Linked DNA regions of Homo sapiens: all the other regions are linked to region 2. Evidence: promoter capture Hi-C in 16 types of primary human blood cells and fetal thymus (Javierre and others, 2016). All regions are on one chromosome and are shown on one strand. Each heading gives the region's core, a stretch centred on a gene start or on the middle of the fragment in contact. The rest is flanking DNA. Distances are from core to core; before and after follow the strand shown.

The links. The method cuts DNA at HindIII sites, captures the fragments that hold promoters and counts their contacts. A CHiCAGO score of 5 or more calls a contact.
Region 1: a fragment that was not itself captured here is called in contact with the fragment with the promoter of SETD7 in region 2 in 1 of 17 cell types (total CD4 T cells); the score reaches 5.5 in total CD4 T cells.
Region 3: a fragment that was not itself captured here is called in contact with the fragment with the promoter of SETD7 in region 2 in 1 of 17 cell types (total CD4 T cells); the score reaches 5.2 in total CD4 T cells.
Region 4: a fragment that was not itself captured here is called in contact with the fragment with the promoter of SETD7 in region 2 in 2 of 17 cell types (fetal thymus and naive B cells); the score reaches 6.8 in fetal thymus.

What each region holds. Positions count from the first base shown.
Region 1 is chr4:139,044,784-139,048,283 of GRCh38, reverse strand. It overlaps NOCT (nocturnin), which reads right to left. Exons shown (of 3, transcript NM_012118.4): 3 at 2,345-3,500. The coding sequence ends at 2,810. Among named protein-coding and RNA genes, the nearest start is that of NOCT, 31 kb to the right of the region's middle. The HindIII fragment of the contact is 252 bases long and covers 1,864-2,115 here.
Region 2 is chr4:139,554,879-139,558,549 of GRCh38, reverse strand. It overlaps SETD7 (SET domain containing 7, histone lysine methyltransferase), which reads left to right and starts at 2,331. Exons shown (of 8, transcript NM_030648.4): 1 at 2,331-2,452. The coding sequence starts at 2,413. RefSeq lists an enhancer at 1,174-1,343 and silencers at 2,084-2,193, 2,414-2,473, 2,534-2,703, 2,834-3,023. The HindIII fragment of the contact is 7,816 bases long and covers 1-3,671 here.
Region 3 is chr4:139,062,901-139,066,273 of GRCh38, reverse strand. All of the region lies in intron 7 of ELF2 (E74 like ETS transcription factor 2), which reads left to right. Among named protein-coding and RNA genes, the nearest start is that of NOCT, 49 kb to the right of the region's middle. The HindIII fragment of the contact is 1,108 bases long and covers 736-1,843 here.
Region 4 is chr4:139,100,496-139,104,181 of GRCh38, reverse strand. The region is part of intron 4 of ELF2 (E74 like ETS transcription factor 2); the gene reads left to right. It also overlaps the pseudogene RN7SL382P. Among named protein-coding and RNA genes, the nearest start is that of ELF2, 75 kb to the left of the region's middle. The HindIII fragment of the contact is 1,553 bases long and covers 704-2,256 here.

The DNA of each region.
Region 1 (3,500 bases), core at 740-3,239, 510 kb after region 2:
ATAACTCGAGAGTTTCACTGGATTTTTTCCAGTCCCCTTAACTCATAGTAACATACCAATCATATGTTGGTGTTTCCAAAACTGATTTCGTCTGGTGGCATGCCCATGCACCCATATGCCCACCCTCAACTCATACCCTGTTAATTTTGTTGGTAGACAACACTTGAAACTCAGACATTATTTTGGCCTTCATTCTTATCCAGATTTATTTATTTAAGGCTGCCATGGTTTCTCTTCCGGTTGAAGTATTTTGGGGTAGGTAAACAATGTACCTGCAATAATGAGTATTCTAATCAGTATTGTTCTCAACAACATATGACTAGCAATTAGTCATGCTAAAATCTGAACCAATTCTACATTTGGTAGATGTTCCCGTGCTTGTCATTCTTTCCAGTAGCCCCAAAATTCTGTGCATACTATGTTACTTCTGAAAACCTCATTTGTTTTAAAAGTGGTTCTATTAAAGAATGAGTGATCCATTTCAGTGGACGTTGTTGCAGCTACAGATCTATGTACGTTCACTTTTACAGTGAAGGCTCCATGTGTGAATGGATATATGTGGGTCATTATGATAAAACAGTATTAAAGGAGAAAATCTACTCCCAGATTCTTTTTGGACTACAAAGACATTAAAAGCACTAGGTTTAAAAGACCATTTATTAATCTTATGTATTTACAACTCACAAATTAAAATATCTATTACCAATAAGTTATTTTGTTTGGAAGAGGCTTTACCTGTAATTTTTACTTTTATTTCTGATGGAAGAGAATTCCAGGTTTTTTTGAGATGGAGTTTCACTCTTGTTGCCCAGGCTAGAGCGCAATGGTGCAGTCTGGGTTCACTGCAACCTCTACCTCCCAGGTTCAAGCGATTCTCCTGTTTCAGCCTCCCAAGTAGCTGGGATTACAGACACCTGCCACCATGCCCAGCTAATTTTTGTATTTTTAGTAGAGACGAGGTTTCACCATGTTGGCCAGGCTGGTTTCGAACTCCTGACCACAGTTGATCCGCCCACCTTGGCCTCCGAAAGTGCTGGGATTACAAGCATGAGCCACCACACCCGACCCAGGTTATCTAACTTTTTACATTCTTCTTTCTAGATATTTTGAATGACAGTATCTGGCTATCTTAGGAAATTTCAATGAAAGCCCATTAACAGGCTTTCTAGAAAGTTTCCTATCTCTGAAAAGAAGGTCCTACTGACTCTCTTGGCCACTGCCACATACAGCTTCTAAATAACCTATTGTGAATAGCACATTCCAATACAAATAATGATGACATCGAGTGACTAATATCAAACGCATACCAATATTATTCCAATGGTAAAGTTTAAATATAACAGCAATAATGAAAACTAATTGGTTAAATAATTGAAAACTAATTGGAATCTCTTCAAGAAACACAATAAGGCCGGGCGCTGTGGCTCACGCCTGTAATCCCAGCACTTTGGGAGGCCAAGGCGGGCAGATCACCAGGTCAGGAGATCGAGACTGAGACCATCCTGACTAACATGGTGAAACCCCGTCTCTACTAAAAATACAAAAAATTAGCCGGGCGTGGTGGCAGGCGCCTGTAGTCCCAGCTACTTGGGAGGCTGAGGCAGGAGAATGGTGTGAACCTGGGAGGCAGAGCTTGCAGTGAGCCGAGACTACACCACTGCACTCCAGCCTGGGCAACAGAGTGAGACTCTGTCTCCAAAAAAAAAAAAAAGAAACACAATAATGGAACATAGAGGCAGGACAAGGATTATTTTTGAAGAATGTATCAAAGAAATCTGACATTTAAATAACAAAAGCCCCTCCAGGCTAAATAGTTCCTTTGTACTCATTTTGTTATAGCCCAAATGAAAATATTTTAAAGCTTTATGAAAATCACCATAAATTACTTTCTCTATAACTTCTCTTGCATGGTTCTAAAATGTTCATAATGCTATAATTTACTTAATTTTATATGAAGATATAAAAAATAAATACTGCCATGCATTTTGTTGACATTTTAAAAACCCACAAATAAATAACTTAAAATGCTGTTTAGAGAAATTGCTCCTACATACTATTATGGAAGATTCAAGCAACAAGTCTAAGTTTTTATAGCATCCTCAAATTGAAAAAGCTTCAAAATAACCGAATTTATTATTATTTTAGAAATAGAGATGGGGTCTCGTGCCATGTTGCCCAGGCTGGACTCGAACTCCTGGGTTCAAGTGATTCTCCCACCTTGGCGTCCCAATGTGTTGGTATTACAGGCATGAGCAGCCACCACACCTGACCAAAACAAGCCAATTTAATGCCCTTAAATGATCAAAATGTAATATTAAGGAAAAGAAAACAACACAAGCCAAAATTGGAGTGCAAACGCCTTTTTCACCATAGGTTTTAATTGAAAAAGGGACTAAAGGGAGTCTTTTCCAAGGGCATGCTGGAAACGCAGAAAATGAAATGATAGAAACTTCCCATGTTTCTATCCTTCCTCTGGCATTGTCTTATCCTATTTGTTTCCTGAAACATTCCCTGTTAAGACTCTTGTGATTCAAGGTCAGGAGATCGAGACCATCCTGGCTAACACGGTGAAACCCCGTCTCTACTAAAAATACAAAAAATTAGCTGGGCGTGGTGACGGGCGCCTGTTGTCCCAGTTGCTCTGGAGGCTGAGGCAGGAGAATGCCATGAACCCGGGAGGCGGATCTTGCAGTGAGCCGAGATCAGGCCACTGTACTCCAGCCTAGGCAACAGAGCGAGACTCTGTCTCAAAAAAAAAAAAAAAAAAAAAAAAATAGACTCCTGTGATTAAAAAGACAAAAGCAAGTATTTATGAAAGTCCATCAGATTCCTCAGTAAAGCTGAAGTCACACACTAGAGACAGGTGGTCTGAAGGATAATTGAAGGAAGGTAACCTGTTGGGTCCAATCTGTTCTTCAGTGAGCAGATCGAGAGCTGACCTTACATTTAGAGCATGTTTAGAATACCAGATGTAATCCAGGGTGTGCCTGCACTCCCCTGAGGTCCGGATCTTCCAGGTAGTGTATGGGGGTTCTGACTGCCCATCAGCACTCAGCAGCTTGTAGGCGCTGTTCAGGTTGAGGCTGGAGGAAGCAAAGTGTTTGTAGACCTCTTCTGTTGGCTCTGCATTGAAGTCCCCACACACAATAAGGGGAATCTTGGCTCCTTGGGTGATGTTTTGCAGGTTCTGAAGGAGGTCACAGCCTTGAGCTGATCGAAACCGCTCCCAGCCAGTGCGTGCTTTTAGATGGGTAACAGCGATGCAGAACTGTCGGCCTGACTCCTTGCACTCCAGGGTCTGTGCAATGGCCACCTGGTTGGTTTTCAATGTCATGGCTGTCAGCCTAATATTGGCACTGTTGACTAGCTTGAATCGGTTTTGAAGAAAAAATAAGGCACAACCATCTGGTCCATTGTTGTGTTCTACATCTAGACAAGGTGACCAGGGTTTGGGGAAAAACGTGCCTTGATAGCCTAGTCTACTGAGGAGTGGCTGGAAG
Region 2 (3,671 bases), core at 1,082-3,581:
GTAGAAAGGGAGCGCTTGACAGTTTGGGTGCTTAGTACAGGCTGGGAAAACCTCACAGCACCAAGGGGACAGTTGGACACTTGCAACATGATTCCTCCCCTCTCCTTCACTCCCACACGTACCCACCCACCATGAAACTGTGTCTTCTGTACGTCTTGAGAGATTTCTTCCAGCCTCCCAGCCCTGCCTCACTGCCTTTGAGTAAGAGAATAAAGTCTTTTTGCTGCTTCCTTCAGCTTTCAGCATTGTTTTTCACCCTGAAAATCAACTGGAAACTGGGGAAGACGAGTATCTGGTATGTTTTAGTGCACCAGTATAATATGCAAGGGAGGGGGTGATATGTAAAAAGGTTAAATGAGAAAAAATATCATATAATTCAAAACCAGTGAGTGACCGAGCTCAGTAAATGATGGCTTTTTAAAAATCAGATATAAAATCCTGTTTCTGTGGTTCATGTTTGAAAATGATGTAACCTAAAGTGGCTCTTTCATCTTCCACTGCACGTACACCTTCTCTGTTTAGCCTTGGACTCCCAGTATCTGCACTGGAGGACTTTAAGGAGGTCAAACCTAAGCCAAGAGACTTCAGAGAGGTATAGACTAAGCTAGAGGGTGTCTTGCTTGAGCCAAAGAACCTCAGAGTGCTCTAGCCTAAGCCCCAAGGACCTTATGTCAATGTAGACTAAGCCTCTAATCTGGAGGAATTCAGGCTGGCTGGCTGGGCTCCCAAGACACCTCTGCAGGTGAGCAGCACCAGGACTCAAGTCTCCTAACTTCTGGTCCAGGACCCTCCCCTTTCTAAAACAGTCAAAGGGGCTGAAATTCCTGGAAGTGTGTGGGGCTAATGTCCCTAGCATTGTTCTCTTTTTCATAGAGGAAAAGCTGACTTTAAGAAACAAGCCGGCAATACTTGACAAAAATATCTACCATTTAAGCACAGAGCCAAAAGCAAGGAGTAGTCTCCTGGGCGCTGGAAGTATTTTGAAATCCCCAAAGTCTCATTCATTGATCAGAAAACAAAATGGAATTACTTTTTTTTTGCTCCCTCCTCCCCTCCATGCAGTAGCTGTTCTTGGCGGGTGCCCAGAGCGGCACCCGGTAATTCCACGGTACATTGTGTACATTTACATCTGTTTAATCGGCTATTTACAGTCGCCCTTTACCGCCACCTGTAAGAGGCAGCGCCATAACGACACTAAGTGGCCGGGCCGGAAGCCGGGTGCCCAATGGTTTTCTCCACTTGAGGACGCCTGAATCTGTGAAGTGGTTGGCACTTGGAGAAACAGAGAGACAGCTGGGGACATCACACGTACAGGGCGGGAGGCGCGGGAAAGAGGCGCGCCAGACGGAGGGTCCTTCCTTCCTCGTTAGCTCCACTCGGCGGCTCCTTTTCCATTACCACAGCAGCAAGGAGGAACCTGCCGAGCCTTCGGTGCGGCTTGTTTCCTGCCTGACAGAGAGCCCGCTGCCATTTGGATTTGATGAATTTCTGAATCACCCGAGGGCCTGGCGACCCGAAGGAGGGCGGGGAGTGGGGGCGCTGGGGTGGACCCGCCATCCTGCGGAATCCGGGCCAGATAACAGCCCCCGAGCTGGGGAAATCGGCTTGCGGATGTGATGCGGGACCGCGAGGACACCTGCGCTCCCTTGCGTGTCGCACTCGTGCAGCTCCCGGTGGCGACGGGGTGATGTGGGGGCGAGGGTGAGAGGAAGTCCAGGCGCCAGAGCGTCAGAAACGCTTCCTTAGCTTCCCTGGCACTTTGGAGGTTGTCTCGAGGGAACACGGACAGTGCACGACGGACTTTCAAGTTGCTCCCGGCACAACGGGAGGTCGGGAGCTCGGAGCCCCTACGGGCGGTCCAAGTGTCCGCGAGAAGCCCGCAGCGCCCAGGACCGCGTTGAGCGCTCGGGGCGCGCCAAGCCGCACCTAAGCAAAAGAGAAACGCTGACGGGCCGGAGGCGGGTTGGCTGGGACGCGGAATACGCGCGGCCCCGGAGCGCCTTTCGTTTTAAGGAGCCTTACTTCTGGAAAGGGACAGGGAACTGTCAATCAGCGAGGGAGGGAGCGCACCGGCGCTGGGTGATGTCAGCGGATCAGCTGCTCGATAACAAAGAGAGGGTATTACAGGAGAAAGTTGCAGCAGCGGCAGCGGCCAAGGCGGCACACCGGAGCCTCCGAGGCGAGGGGCAAGTGGGCGAAGGGAGGGGGGACGACGGCTGCTGCCGCAGCAGCTGAAGGCCAAGGAATTGAAAGGGCTGTAGGGGGAGGCAGTGCGAGCCAGCCCCGACTGCTCCTCCTCTTCCTCCTCCTCCTCCAAACTCGCGAGCCCCAGAGCTCGCTCAGCCGCCGGGAGCACCCAGAGGGACGGGAGGCAGCCGCGCAGCCCCGAGCTGGGCAGTGTCCCCAGCCGCCATGGATAGCGACGACGAGATGGTGGAGGAGGCGGTGGAAGGTACAAGCATTTCTCCGGGGCCGGGGGAGGAGGCGCAGAGGGCCTGGAGCGCGGAAGGAGTGGCGGGCTGCGAACAGCGCGGCGCCGGGCCCCGCGGCCGCCACTGTCCCCTACACGGGTGGCCGGTTGCCCGGCTCGGGCGGGGGCCCGACAGCCACGGTCACGCCGCCGGGAGCGCGCACTGCGCGGCGGGGCGCAGGCCGAGAATGGGGCTCCGCCAGGCCGGGGGCGCTGGAAACGCACGGCCGCTCCATCCCGCCCGGCCACAGCCTGCATCCACCCTCGGAGTTGCGAAACCTGCCCCGCGCTCTGGCCTTTCCGCCTTTGGGCGCGGAGGGTGGGTGCACTCCGCAGGGCAGCCCCTTGAGGCCGGCGGACTCCGCGGAGCAATCCCCTAGCCCAGTTTTGGCCACCCCGATCCCCTCCCGGCCGCCAGCCCTTCCCTTCTGCTGCCTCTGCGCCCCGCGGCGGCCGCGGCCCCGTCCGGGTAGGTCCCCCGGCGCAGCGCACGGGGCCAGACCAGGCACGTGGCAGCCGCGGCCCAGGCGGCAGCTCTTCCGAAAAGATGAAATCATTGTCGGGCGACGGACAAGTCTCCCGACCCGGGACTCGAACGTGCGCCGTCCGGGAGGCGGGCAGCCCTCCCCTCAGCTGCCCCCGAGCGAACTCAGTCAGGCCTCCCCCTCCCCCTTCCTGCTTGGCTGGGATGCAGCCGCCACGCTGTGCAGGCGCGCCGCGAGTCCGCACCGAGATTGCTGGGTGACACTTAACTTTCTGAATTCCATGCCGTTGGCTGTGGGTGATATCACCGCCTCAGTGTCGTGTTTCTCCGCCCCTTCTCTTCTACCGCCCCTCCCCCGACTTTTCTCGCCACTTTGTTTTGCTGAGTTTCTCCACCTTTTTTTTTTTTTTTTTGTTAGTTCTGAAAAAACGATGTGGGGACGTTATACAATCTCGTTGTTTGTATCATAGGATGTTATGATTTTGTAACAGCGAATACTGGAAAATACTCTTTAGCGTATTTATTTGGTTCCACTCCATACAGTACGTCGTGATGTTTTTCAGTGTGGTGTGGTATGATACCAGAATGTTTTAAACTAAGCATGTGAGTAAATAATTTTTAGCTGTTGGTTGAATCTGGTTTCTGTCTGATTTGTATAAACACAAGTTCTGACGAAGGATAAAGAAAAAAAGTGGCGACACTACAAATGCATAAGGA
Region 3 (3,373 bases), core at 40-2,539, 490 kb after region 2:
GGTTTTAGATGTGTTCTGTCTGCCCATCTGATAACCGAAAATTTATCACTTTCATGAATAAGTGTTTTCAGACCAATATTCAATAGTTGGATAAATTTTACATTAATATATTTAAATTTATTCTGTCCTTATCAGGTGGTTTGATTTAATAATTTTAAATAATTAAAACAGAAATTAAGTCTAGTTTAAAAAAAATTGTCTCCAGTAAGCCTACCAAGAAATTTGGTATTTCATTAGGTCAAAAAAAAAAAAAAAAAAAAAAAAGGTGACATTGAACACATTCAGGAACTGGTGACCCAATTTGGGAGAGGCTTAGGATACTTTTCTTATTTCCTTGTTTGTCTTTGGTTGTTGTACACTTCTAACATCTTAGGTTTCTTCTTTTAGTTTATATTGAAAACTTTAAAAGTTAACATAGTATGTATTAGAAAATTAAACTGTAAATATACAGTTATTACTGTTGTCTTTTTAAATAATTCTTATCCTCAGTGGTATCACTTATACTTGAATATCTTTTGCTTAACGCTGGAGAAAAACTGTGACCAGTTTTTACCAATTAAAATCACATCTCATTACAATTTCAGTCTTGTATTAAATTTGAGGCAGTGTGTTATAATGTAATTAATTGAAGCTGTTACAGTCAAACCTGTATTCAAAGTCCAGCCAGTGTTTTTTCTTCTGTAAAATTGTGATAATAGTCATAGGCAAATTCCTTATTACCTGGTAAAGAAAGCTTCTCTTTCTGAATCCTGTTTTCCCTAAAACCAGAAATATAATTTTTAATAATTTTTTTCTATAGAGACAGGGTCTCACTCTGTCACCTAGGCTGGAATACAGTGACAGGATCATAACTCATTGCAGCCTCAGCCTCCCAGGCTAAAGTATTCTTCTGCCTCAGCCTCCCAAGTAGCTGGGACCACAGGCACATACCACCGTGTCTGGCTAATTTTAAAATTTTTTGTAGAGACGGGTCCCCCTATGTTGCCTAGGCTATTCTCATACTCCTAGGCTCAAGTGATCCTTCAGCCTTGGCCTCCTTAGAATTGTTCATTTTAACTTGGGGATGGCAACATGGGTGCAGTGAGTGTTTAAAGATAATATGAGGGATTTTGATGAGTTTAATTCAAAACATGGAAACATTCAGATATCTTATGTACAGGGCATTGTCTATGTTATACAAACATTTCTTCCAGAGTAAAATCTTTGCTCACATTTACTACTATGTGAACAAAATAAAAATGCAAAAAAAAGAAAATAACTGAAGATTATACATGGTTTGTTTTAATAGTTTTTAGGTAGTGATGCTGGTGTAATAGGGTCCTAGAGATACAAATGTAACTTTGTAAAGTTAAAAGTCATTTTTTTTGTTTTGTTTTGTTTTGTTTTGTTTTTTGAGGTGGAGTTTCGCTCTTGTTGCCCAGGCTGGAGTGCAATGGCATGATCTCAGTTCACTGCAACCTCTGCCTCCCGGGTTCAAGCGATTCTCCTGCCTCAGCCTCCTGAGTAGCTGGGATTACAGACATGTGGCACCACGCCCGGCTAATTTTTATATTTTTAGTAGAGATGGGGTTTCTCCATGTCGGTCAGGTTGGTCTCAAACTCCCGACCTCAGGTGATCCGCCCGCCACGGCCTCCCAAAGTGCTGGGATTACACACATGAGCCAACACGCCCGGCCGAAGGTCAGCTTTTTCAGGTCAGTAGATGCATAATGGGTTGAACTCTGTGTTATTAATGAATTTACTGGATTTTCAGAGAAAGCCACAATGAAAGTGAAATGCCAGAGACAAAACATCAGTACTTTGACTGAAGGTGTTGGGGTAGTGCTGGCTTGTTTTGGAAGCTTCCCACATAGCCTGTATCTTAGAACTGGATTTAAGGATAGTAAACGAATAGTGCATGGAATCCTACAGATGACCTATCTTTTTCGTCTCAGGACTCTTTTCTGTTCTTTTTTTCTTGAGACGGAGTCTCGTTCTGTCGCTCAGGCAGTGCGGTGCAGTGCAGTGGCGTGATCTCTGCTCACTGCAACATCCGCCTCCTGGGTTCAAGGGATTCTCCTGCCTCTGCCTTGCGAGTAGCTGGGATTACAGGCACCCGCCATCATGCCTGGCTAATTTTTGTATTTTTGTAGAGATAGGGTTTTACCATGTTGGCCAGGCTGGTCATGAACTCCTGACCTCAGGTGATCCACCCACCTTGGCCTCCCAAAATGCTGGGATTACAGGCGTGAGCCACCTCGTCCAGCCTTCTGTTCTTCTATTAATAAGAACCTTGGCACCTAGAGGTTATGAAGGGAATAAAATAAAAACAATCTGAAAAGCGTCTTCTAATGACCGCTGCCTACTACTCTCTCCTCCATAATAAGGGAGAAAAAAGTGTGATACTTTCTTCCTTTTGGGATTAAGTTTTTTTTTTTTACTTGCCCAGATTCCTTTTTGTTCTTTTATGCACATCCTAGCCATCTTCCAAGACTTCATGATGGCCTCCCAGTCCACTTTATTTTCACTCTTGGAATCCCACAGACATATTTTCTAGATTATTTGGAATATAATTAATTATGCATTGCTTTGTGATAGATCTTATATTGTTTCAAATTGTTATTTATTTCTTGCATTGTTGTTTAACTTGTCATCTACTTTCTTTCCCCTTCTCAACTAAATTATAAATTCCTTGAGGCAGGGACCAGGTTTTAAATTCATCTCCTTAAGCATGGTATGCGATGAATAAGCATTTTATTCTGCAGAAATATTCTAATATTTCCTCATTTTAAAATTTTACTAGTAGTGTGATCCAGAGCTAATGTTACAGTTAACATTTGATGAATACTTGACTAATTTTAAGGAATTACCATATTTTTCCATTTTAGGACCTCAGAATTTAAGATATAAGTATATATAATGAAATCCTTTAAACATTATCTTCCGTCTATTGGGTGTAATCAGTAGAAAGCGATTAGAAAATTTTTTTAAATCTGTTTTTAGAGGCAGTAATGTTCTTTTTTCTTTCTTTTTTCCTGTGACAGGGTTTCACTCTGTCGCCCAGGCTGGAGTGCAGTGGTGCGATCTCAGCTCACTGTAACCTCTGCTTCCTGGGTTCAAGCGATTCTCATGCCTCAGCCTCCCAAGTAACTGGGATTACAGGTGCACGCCACCATGCGCAGCTAAATTTTATATTTTTAGTAGAGATGGGGTTTCACCATGTTGGCCAGGCTGGTCTCGAACTCCTGACCTCACGTGATATGCCCGCCTCCTGGCCTCCCAAAGTGCTGGGATTACAGGTGTGAGCCACCACACCCCGCCAACAGTAATGTTCTTTGCTATCAAGTCTTAATTGACTGGTAGTACAGAGGAAAATGATAAGAAAATCCTTAAA
Region 4 (3,686 bases), core at 231-2,730, 450 kb after region 2:
TAGCTTTATAGCCTTTATTTTCATTAGAATAACAGTTTTTTGTTGTTGTTTGTTTTTGTTTTTAAATGAAAGAAGTCCTATGCTGTTTTCTCCTGGTTTAAAGTCAGTGTTTGGTCATAATTGGGTGTTTGATTTCTTTTCACTTTGTAAATATGCCAAAATATATACACTACTTGAAGGGAATGAGCAATTACTTTTTTTATTTAACTAAAATACTTTTCATATGTTTTATATTAAACTGGGTGGTGATAATATGCAATTATTTTTCAGGACTTAAGAATATCTTTAAACAATTATTTGTTAGTGAGTAGAAAAGCAAACTCTTTGTCTCACTATGCTCTCAACAGTTAACACAGAAGACCTCTGGGACATCTGATTACCATGAAGTGTGTGGGATTTCTCCCGACCAATAAACTAGTCAGTCAGTTCTGTAGTGGACACCAGCTGGGTGTCCTCTAATTCAATTCAGTTCTGACACTGTCTACTTGGAGATAGCATCAGATCCTCTGAGAAACACATTTACCAGTTTATCATAAAGGATATTTAAAGGATACAGATGAAGAAATGCATAGGGCGTGAAGTATTGGGGAAGGGTCATGGAGGTCCCATGCCCTTGCTGGGCATGCCACACTCCAGGAACCTCCACATGTTCAGCTATCAGGAAAGTCTCTGAACTCATTCGTTTTGGGTTTTTATGGAAGCTTGATTAAGTAGGCATGATTGATTAAGTCATTGGCTATTGGTGGTTGACTTAACCTTCAGCCCTGTTTCCCGAGGCCCAGAGGTTGGGAGTGGGGCTGAAAGTCCCAACCCTATAATCCTGCCTTGGTCTTTCTGGTGACTAGCCCCCATCCTGAAGATACCTAGGGGCTGCCAGCCATTACTCAATCTTTAGCACACAAAAGAACACTTACTACTTTGGAGATTCCAAGGATTTTAGGACTTGTATGCCAGGAAATGGGGAGCAAGACTAAATATATATATTTCACACATATTTCACAATATCACAGCTAGAACTTGGGAGATTTTCTTATCAGTAGATGAACTTGCAAAAGATCATGAGAAAGTTTTACATCAAAAAGAAAAGGTTAGCCTGGGCAATATGGCAAAACCCCATCTGTACAAAAAATACAAAAATTAGTCGGGCATAGTGGCAGGTGCCTGAAGTCCCAGCCACTTGGAGGCTGAGGTGGGCAGATTGCTTGCACTTGGTAGGTCAAGGCTGCAGTGAGCTGTGATCCTGACACTGCATTCTGACAGAGCGAGACCCTGTCTCAGGGGGGAAAAAAAAAAACATTTATGTCTCCGATCTAGTTAGCAAAAAGATACTTCTTTTTTTTGGAGATGGAGTCTTGCTCTGTCGCCCAGGCTGGAGTGCAGTGGCATGATCTCAGCTCACTGCAACCTCCGCCTCCTGGGTTCAAGCAATTCTGCTGCCTCAGCCTCCCGAGTAGCTGGGATTACAGGTGCCCGCCACCACGCCTGGCTAATTTTTTTATTTTTAGTAGAGATGGGGTTTCACCATCTCGGCCAGGCTGGTCTAAAACTCCTGACCTCAGATGATCCGCTTGCCTCAGCCTCCCAAAGTGCTGGGAATTCTGGCGTGAGCCAGCATGCCCGGCCGATACTTCCTTTTTTTTTTGAGACGGAGTCTCCCTCTGTCTCCCAGGCTGGAGTGCAGTGGTGCTATCTCCGCTCACTGCAACCTCCGCCTCCTGGGTTCAAACAATTCTCCTGCCTCAGCCTCCCGAGTAGCTGGGACTACAGGCGCCCGCCACCACCCACCACGCCCGGCTAATTTTTTGTATTTTTTTTTTTTTTTTCGTAGAGACCGGGTTTCACTGTGTTAGCCAGGATGGTCTCGATGTCTTGACCTCGTGATCCACCCACCTCGGCCTCCCAAAGTGCTGGGATGACAGGCGTGAGCCACTGCGCCCGGCCCTGATACTTCTTATATATGGTGTTTGACAAGTCTTTCAGGAAAATCTGAATTTTTTTCCCCATATGACCTTTTTTCTGATGTGTAATAGTTGGAAAATAAAGGCAGGATTTAGAATAATTACTGAGAATGAAAAACTTCTTTTGAAGAGGAAACCAAGAACTTGGTTCAAGAGGAGAAAGAAATTAAAAGGTGGTAATTTCTTTTTGAGACATTTACTTTCTTGAATAAACTTGACATCCCCCCCTTTTTTTTTTTTATCTTTTTCTTTAGGGACATTGGTCTATAGTTAGTATCTAGGTTTACAACATTAAGCTTTTTTCATTTTGTTTGGAAAAACAAGGCTGGCAGAATTACATTTGTTTTTAATTCCATTGCTAATATTACATACTTAGGAGGCTATCAGGTGCAAGTTATTTACTTGAGACAAGAAGCACTGATTATTTTGGCTAGGCTTCATCTGAAGGCCTATGTTCTGGGAAGGGAGGCCTCCATAAAAAAGGAAGAACCTTTAGTGACCTTTATCCTTGGGAATAAAAGTAAAGATCAGAAGCCAGTGCATTCAGTTTACCGTCTTACAAAAGGAGTCAAGTATTGTATAGGTCAGAGACCACTATTGTAAGATCATATAAATCCTGTGTCTAATTTTGTTATCCTCTGTTTCTCCATAATAATTAGTACCAAGCACTTTACAAAAAGAATCCCCATATATTTGTTTTTGGAGGCCACAAGAAATGGGAAGGGCTAATGAGAGACTGCAGTTAATTCTGCAGCTAGTCTTAGGGAAAACAGAACTCCAAAAAATAGAAGAGCTGAAAGGAGAAGAAAGCAGACTGAATTCTTGTGCTTATCAAAGGAAGAACAAAAGAATAAGGAGTTGTCCTGGATCTGAGACCATTAGTGGGGTTACCTGAGATGACCTGTGATGTGTGTGGCACTGTGTTTTTTTTATGTGAACTAGAGCAAGAAATTAGATATGGCCCCTCCTGTAAAGAAACTCACTCATTTGTGGGGAAAATATATAAGGAAACAACTCTTCATAACCTAAGGTTTAATAATATTAGTGTTATAATAGTGAAGGAGACAGATCTTAGCTATTCTGATGGGAAGTTTACATTTTAGTTGAGTTTGGGAGGATAAATAAAATTTCATTGGGAAGAAAAGAATTTTCTAGTTGAGAAGTCATTTATTTATACCTTTTCCTACCTTCTCCCAGTCCATTACCAAATCATGTTAATTTTGCCTCCAAAGTATATCTCGAGTCTTCCTATCTTCATTGCTACTAGGCTAGTTCACTCTGTAGTTTTTTTACATGAGCTATGTTGATGGCCTTTGGCCTTCTAATCAGCCTGTTTTCATTATTGCCTCCTCCTCCTACCCCCAGCAATCTATGCTCACCATAGTAGCCAAAGTGATTTAAAATATAAATTTGTAAGTGGAATAGTGATACTCCCTCCCTAAAATCTTTCAGTGGATTCTAATTGCACTTAAGATAAAATTCAGAGTATTTTTAAATTGTTTTCACTTAATTTTTATTTTTTTTCTGTATTTCAATGGATGCAGTTAAAAAAATGTTTTTTTTAAAGAGTTATGGTCTTGTTATGATGCCCAAGCTGGAGTACAGTGGTTATGCACAGGTGCAGTCCCACTACTCATCAGGACAGGAGTTTTGACTTGCTCTGTTTCCAGGCTGGTCTGGTTCACCTCTCCTTAGGCAACCTTGTGGTCCCTCACGTTTATGCCGAAC